Linked DNA regions of Homo sapiens: region 2 is linked to region 1. The links are contacts of gene promoters, found by promoter capture Hi-C in human tissues and cell types (Jung and others, 2019). All regions are on one chromosome and are shown on one strand. The core of a region is centred on a gene start or on the middle of the fragment in contact, and the rest is flanking DNA. Distances in the headings are between cores, read along the strand shown. Region 1 holds the start of BCR (BCR activator of RhoGEF and GTPase). Region 2 has its middle 35 kb from the start of LINC01659.

Region 1 (3,166 bases), core at 431-2,930:
TCTTGCGGACGCCCACGATGGTGGCCTCGGACACGACAACCGGGCAGTGCCGGTGCCGCTTATGGCACTGCGGCGTGGGGGGACTGCTGCTGTCGAAGGACTGTTGCGAGTTCTGCGAGGGAGAGCGGCTTTTGTCCCGGAACATGCGGTAGGTGGTGGGGCTTGGGGACACGCGGCTGGACTGGCCAGAGGAGAAGTCCTCCTCGCTGGAGGTGAGGTTCTCATTGGAGCTGCAGTCCGGGGTATAGCCGCCTCCGCAATCCTCAAAACTCCGGGGGGAGTAGGACCTGCGGGGCCAGGTAAGGCGCTTCTCCTGCTCAGAGGTGCTCTGGCTGCGCAGGAGCGGGCCCTTGCCCTCCCCTTCCATCATGCCCCCGACGTAGATGCTCTGGTAGGGCTGGTACTCCAGGGGCGGCCAAGGGGGCCTGCTACCGCCATTGGCGTCGATCAGGTTGTCCTTCAGGAAGCGGGGGTTCAACTCGGCGTCCTCGTAGTCGCCGTCGACGCCGCAGCTGCTCTCCGAGGAGCGTCCCCGGTAAGGGGGCCTGGATGCATCCCCCACGCTCGAGCCCGCGCCGTGCTGGGACTTTTTGCGCTCCATCTGCATGGCCTGGCTGCCCAGGGAGCTGATGCGGTCCGACACCTCTTTGTCGTTGACCTTCACCAGGCCGCGCTCGTGGTGAAACTCGACGTTCACGTAGAAGGGCTTCTCGGCGTCCGCCCCGGGCTGGCCATGGCCCTTGCGGATCCGCTCGAAGTTGGACCTGAGCGCCGCCACGCTGGCGGGGGGTCCCCGGTCGTCCCGTTCCCCCGACGCGGCTGCCCCGGGCCTGCGGGCGGTCCCGGGCCTGGCCTTACCCGGAGAACCCTCGCCGTCGGGCCGGGCCTCGGGCTCCTCGGCGGGCGGCGGGTCGGCTCCGTCGGCGGGCGCTGGCTGCGGGCGCGACGCGGACGCTCGGGGCTCGGAGGCGCCGTCGGGGGCCTGCGCCGCGCGCCGGAAGCCCCATCGCTGCCGGTCATAGCTCTTCTTTTCCTTGGCCAGCAACGTCTGCAGGTAGATCATGCGGAAGCGCTCCTGGTTCACCTCCTGCTCCAGGCGCCGAATGGAGGCCTTGCAGCGCTCCAGCTCCTGCTCGATGTCGCCCACTGAGCGCAGCTCCATGCGCGGGGGCTCTGAGTCCGGGAACTGCGCCTTCCACGCCTCCGCGAAGCCCACCGGGTCCACCATGGCGCGGCCGGCCTTACCTGCGCCGCCGGGCTGCGCGCGGGGCCCGTCTCAGCGGCGGCGCGGCGCCTCGCCAGCCCGGCCCCGGGCGCCGGGCGGCCCCCATGGCCCGCGCGGCGGCGGCGGCGGCGAACAATGCCCGCCCACTCCCTGGTGGCAGGTGAGGCGGAGCGGGGCGCTCGGCGCGCGGGGCGGGGCGCGCCGGGGGGAAGGGCGCGGGCTGCGCGCGCCGCTATTGTGTGCGGGGCTCCTCCGCACGGCGAGGCGCGGGCGCTGCTCTCCGCTCCGCCAGGCCGCCGCCAGACTCTGGCCACGGCCCGCGCGCTCCTCGCCTCTCGCTTCCGCACCGCCCCACAGCCCCGCCGCCGCCGTGCCGCCGCCGCCGCCGCCGCCTCCTCGGACGCTAAGCTCAGCCAGCCGGCTCTCGCCGCACTCCCGCCCGGCCCGCACTCTGCGCCGCAGGAAGGGGAGGGCCGGGGGGAGGTGGCCGCGGCGCGGATGACGGAGCCAGGCGGGCCTCTTAAAGGGGCCGCGCCGTGGGCACAGGGCGGGGGGGCCCCCTGGAGGCGGCTCCCCCATCGAGCCGCCACCCTCCCCCCGTCCCTGTGCCTTTTGGGAAACTGAGGCCCTAACAACAGCGAATTGGACTGTGCAACTCGCAGCCCAGGGGTCCCCCGTAAAAAAGACACCGGACTCCCTGGTCCATAAAGACCTTTCCAATACAGAGGTCTGGGCCAGTTCTGCAGTCCTGGAACAGGAACACTTGGCTCCCCTCCGGCCAGGAGGACTTCTCCGGCCAGTCCAGCCGCGTGTCCCCAAGCCCCACCACCTACCTCATGTTCCGGGACAAGAGCTGCTCTCTCTGGCAGAACTCGCAGCAGTCCTCCGACAGAAGCAACCTCCCCCCTCTGCCCCTACCACGCCGCAGTGCCATAAGCGTCACCGGCACTGCCCAGTCGTCGTGTCAGAGGCCACCATCGTGGGCATCTGCAAGACCAGGCAGATCTGGCCCAACGATGCGGAGGGCACCTTCCATGGAGACGCAGGTAAGTTCCTCACACCTCACAGCCTGGCCTCTCACCAGCCTCAGGGCTGGGCACACTAGGGACCACCCAGCAGGGCCCAACTCACAGAGAGGCCAGGACCAGGCAGGTCACCCCGCAAGGCAGGGAGGGCCAGGCTGAGTAACCAATGCCAGCACCCTTGTTTCAGCGGGCCTCTCACGTTGTGGATCTGCTGTGGGTGGCTGCCACACGGGTTTGTCACAGCAGGACCACATGATGGATGATAAATAGGGATTTCTCCCTCAGGTCACTCAATACCCACACCTGCCTTCCTGTGTGCTGAGCCATGTGTTTGTCCCCTGGCCTCTCTTGAGCTCCAGAGGTCAATGTAGTTTTTCCAGGACGACCTGACTCAGAACTTCCCTGATTAGCCTCCCTCTAAGGGGGCGGCCAACCTGCACTGAGGTTCACAGGGCTGGGTGGAAGACAGCCCAGAGCAGGGAGTGAAACAAAACCTTTGATGGTTCTCTGGGGACACAGAGATCTGAGACACAGTGGAGAGCACTCTGCAGGGACTCTGATGGGCACAAACTGAAAATACCCAAACCAGCCCGCTGGGTTGGGGGAAAAGGAAACAGGATTTGGCAAATGAATTACTGGGCTTGAGTCCTGACCACCTCTCCCTCTCTGCCTCAGTTTCCTTGAAGTGAGAAGCACATCTGCCTCCAAGTGCTGTTGTCCCTGTGTGGATGTTAGGGATTATCATGCCCTCCTCCCAATGCCAGCGTCATCTGGAGCAGATACTTTGAAGTCCAATCTAAAGGACTGAGCCCAGGCTAGTAGCCAGGCCAGCCCTGCTTGGGTTCAGGGCTTCCTGCCGACTCCTGGCTGTGTGACCTCAGCAGTGTCTCTCTCAGCCTCTCTGAGCCTCAGTTTT
Region 2 (3,166 bases), core at 1-2,500, 220 kb before region 1:
AATCGCAGCCTGTCCTACAATAATGTGCTCAACCCTGGCTCGCCTGGTGGCCACGCCTGCCTCGCCCATCCAGCAGTTGGCGTGGCCGGATACCACTCACCCTACCTGCACCCTGGGGCAACGGGCGACCCACCATGGCCCCTGCCCCACAGCTTCAGTCCCGTGCTGGGCCCCCGGCCCCAGGAGCCCTCGCCTGTGCTCTACGACATCCTGTCCAGGACCATCATGGCATCCATCCAGGAGCGCAAGGACAGGGAGGAGCGTGAGTGCCTGCTGCGCTCCCAGGCCGACTCACTCTTCGGCGACTCAGGCGTCTATGATGCTCCCAGCTCCTACAGCCTGCAGCAGGCCAGTGTGCTGTCTGAGGGCTTCCGAGGTCCTACGCTGTGCTACAGCTCTACAGATGACCTTGTGGCCAGGCCCGGCTTCGGCGGCGCCTGCAACCCTGTCCTGCAGACATCATTGTCCTCGCTTTCCAGCTCCGTGAGCCGTGCACTGCGGACGTCGTCCTCCTCCCTGCAGGCTGATCAGGTCAGCAGCAACGCCCCGGGGCCCCGGCCCAGTAGTGGCTCACACAGGTCGCCCGCACGCCAGGGCCTGCCCTCCCCGCCCGGCACTCCCCACTCACCATCCTACACAGGCCCCAAAGGTGTCACCTTCATCCAAATGGACCTCCTAGAGCCACCGCCCTCGCTGACCGTGCAGAGGTGGGTGCTGGGAGGTGCGGGTGGGCTTCCTGGCACAGGGCAGCTGTCCAGCCGTCTGCAGGGCCCCTCTTGGCTGGGCACTCATAGGTCATCCCAGGGGCCTGAGTTTTTCTCTGGGGACGGGACAGGGAGGATGCGCCTCACCCTGCATTGAAGGCTTTGGCTAGCCCGTGTGGCCCAGCTCTGAGGATGTCCTGGGCATGCTCTGGGGACAGGGTATGAGAATTTGTGTCCTGATCCCAATGACTTGTTCTTCCAGAGCTGGCACAGACCCAGCACGTAGGAGGCCATGGGGCTTTCTCTTTGGGGTCAGTATCATGTGGCAGCCTGGGCCTCCTTTAGGCTGTGGCTCTGGCATCCTGGGTCACAGTGGCCCTGTCTACCCGGTGCTCTCCCTGGGCCTGCTTTGCTGCATCTCTAGGAGGCTGGGGCTGAGGACATTACCTCGCAGCAGAATGTGCCTCCCTGGGTGGCCGGGCCCTGGCCCTCCCTGTGGGACATAGTTCTGGGAAGCAGGGGCTTCCCTGCTCGTAGTGGGGAAACTGAGGACTGGAGAAAGCAGGCTGGCTCCAGGCACCCAGCAGGTTGGTAACTGAGAGAGCGGGGTCAGCTGGCTTGTAGGCCCAGGCCCAGGTAGGAGAGCTGCACACCTGCTGGGGCCAGGACCCACGCCACGGACGCATGGTGTCCTCACGGCATCTGTCGTCTGTCACCCCGTCTGGGCCTGGAAACCTCAAGCACAGGCTCAGCTGTTTCCTGTCGTCAGATGCGGCCCCAGGGGGAGAGCCCAGCCCCGCCCAGCCCAGCCCAGGCCACTTGGCCACAAAGGGGCTGAGGGCACAGCAGTCCAGCCCTGAGGAGGCCTCCCCTACCCCACAGGGTAGGAGTCTGTTCAGCTTTTGTGGAGTTGGGGAGGAGGCTGCCACTGGGAGTGATGAGTGGGGAGCCCGAGACCTAGAAGTGGGCAGCATTGCAGCCAGGCAGGGATCGCAGCCCGGGGACAAAGGGCTCTCACCTTGAGAAGGTTTAAGCAGCAAGGATAGAGCTGCTGTTGGTCAGCGCTGGTGGGCAGGAGGGCAGCCCCTCGTTTTCCTGAGAGAGAGCAGGAATGAGGCCAGGCAGAGTGGCCGGGCTCCCAGTGCAGAGCAGGGCAGGGGCTCCATTCAGTGCCCACCTGACTGCCCCATGCTCTCTGTGGCCAGTGCTGCCTAGGGACCCAGGGACTTGGGAGGGTGGTGGCAGTTCTGACAACATCTGTCCTGTGATGGCACAGCCGCTCCCCAGGCAGGCTCTGCATCTCCCTCCTACTTTCTGGGTGAACCCTCCGAGCCTAGAGGGCAGGGACTGCCCAGGGCCCCACGACATGGCTACACCAGTCCACGTCTGTGTCGTCTCTGTCCTGTTGCCTCCTCCGTCCTCTGTCCCCGTGTTCGTGTGTTCACCGTGTGCATGCGTGTATGTGCTTGTTTTGATGCAGGGACCACCCTCAGCTGAAGACTCCCCCAGGTAAGCTTAATGGGCAGTCTCTGGGCCTGGCCCGGCTGGGACCTGCCACAGGCCCCCCAGGGCCCTCTGCCAGATCTATGTGGCACACGCTGGTTAAGAAGGTGTCTGGCGTGGGTGGGACCATGTACGAGATCCTGGTGTGAGGACTGACCACCACCCATCCGCCGTGGTGCCACGGGGACCAGGACCCCGCAGCACACCCCCGTTCCCCATCAACTTCTCTGCCCCAGGGACCCAAGGCCACCCCAGCCTGGTGTGGACCCATCGGCGGGAGAGAGTGCCACGCCTCCACAGCTTGCCGCAAGCGCTCTGCCTGCCTGTCCACTCATCTGCCCGTCCACTCATCTGCCCATGGGGAAGTTGGCTCACTGGGCCAAGGGCCACTGGGCTGGTCTGTGTCTGGGCCCATCCCATGGCTGGGGCAGTGAGGGGGCCCAGTCAGTCTCTTTGGGGCACGCTCTCTCAGCCAGGCTTGGCTCACTCCCATCACCCATGCACCCCAGGTCATTGCCAGGCCAGCCCCCAACGGTCCCCTTACGGATGGGTCCCAGAGATCGACAGAGGCACCCAGGGCCCCCGCCGTCCTTCCGACACAGCCTGTGGGTTCCCAGACCGAGTGTCCCCAGCCAGGCTACTCCTAACACGTTGCCTTTCATGGACCCCGCTGGAAGCTCGTAGCTTGGCAAGGCCAATGATGCTTCTGCTCTGATCTGCTCTGGGTAGTGGTGGATGGGTGGACAGATGGCCAGCCATGTGTCAGTGTTCCGGCCGCCGCCGTCCCTTTCACCAAAGCCTGAACCTTTTTTTATGCTCTTATGGGAGGCAACGGGGCAGGCGGGAGCAGGCACGGGGGTGATGCTGCCACGGGGCCTGTGACACCCAGAGCCTCCTCCCCAGCCCTCAGGCCCTCCCTGCCAAACTGGAGAACCCTGCCCCAAGGCATGCCACGTCCC

Evidence for each region. Contacts are between HindIII fragments. The study calls those that stand out against the background at their distance.
Region 2: a contact is called between a fragment that was not itself captured here and the fragment with the promoter of BCR in region 1, in 1 of the 25 tissues and cell types used here (dorsolateral prefrontal cortex).

What each region holds. Positions count from the first base shown.
Region 1 is chr22:23,179,023-23,182,188 of GRCh38, reverse strand. BCR (BCR activator of RhoGEF and GTPase) reads right to left here and starts at 1,680. Exons shown (of 23, transcript NM_004327.4): 1 at 1-1,680. The coding sequence starts at 1,228. It also overlaps a transcript of RSPH14 not described here and the pseudogene BCRP8. RefSeq lists silencers at 1,150-1,229, 1,250-1,519, 1,590-1,829 and an enhancer at 1,950-2,760. The HindIII fragment of the contact is 16,176 bases long and covers 1-3,166 here.
Region 2 is chr22:23,397,125-23,400,290 of GRCh38, reverse strand. It overlaps the pseudogene ZDHHC8BP. Among named protein-coding and RNA genes, the nearest start is that of LINC01659, 35 kb to the left of the region's middle. RefSeq lists enhancers at 1-747, 837-1,391. The HindIII fragment of the contact is 6,507 bases long and covers 1-3,166 here.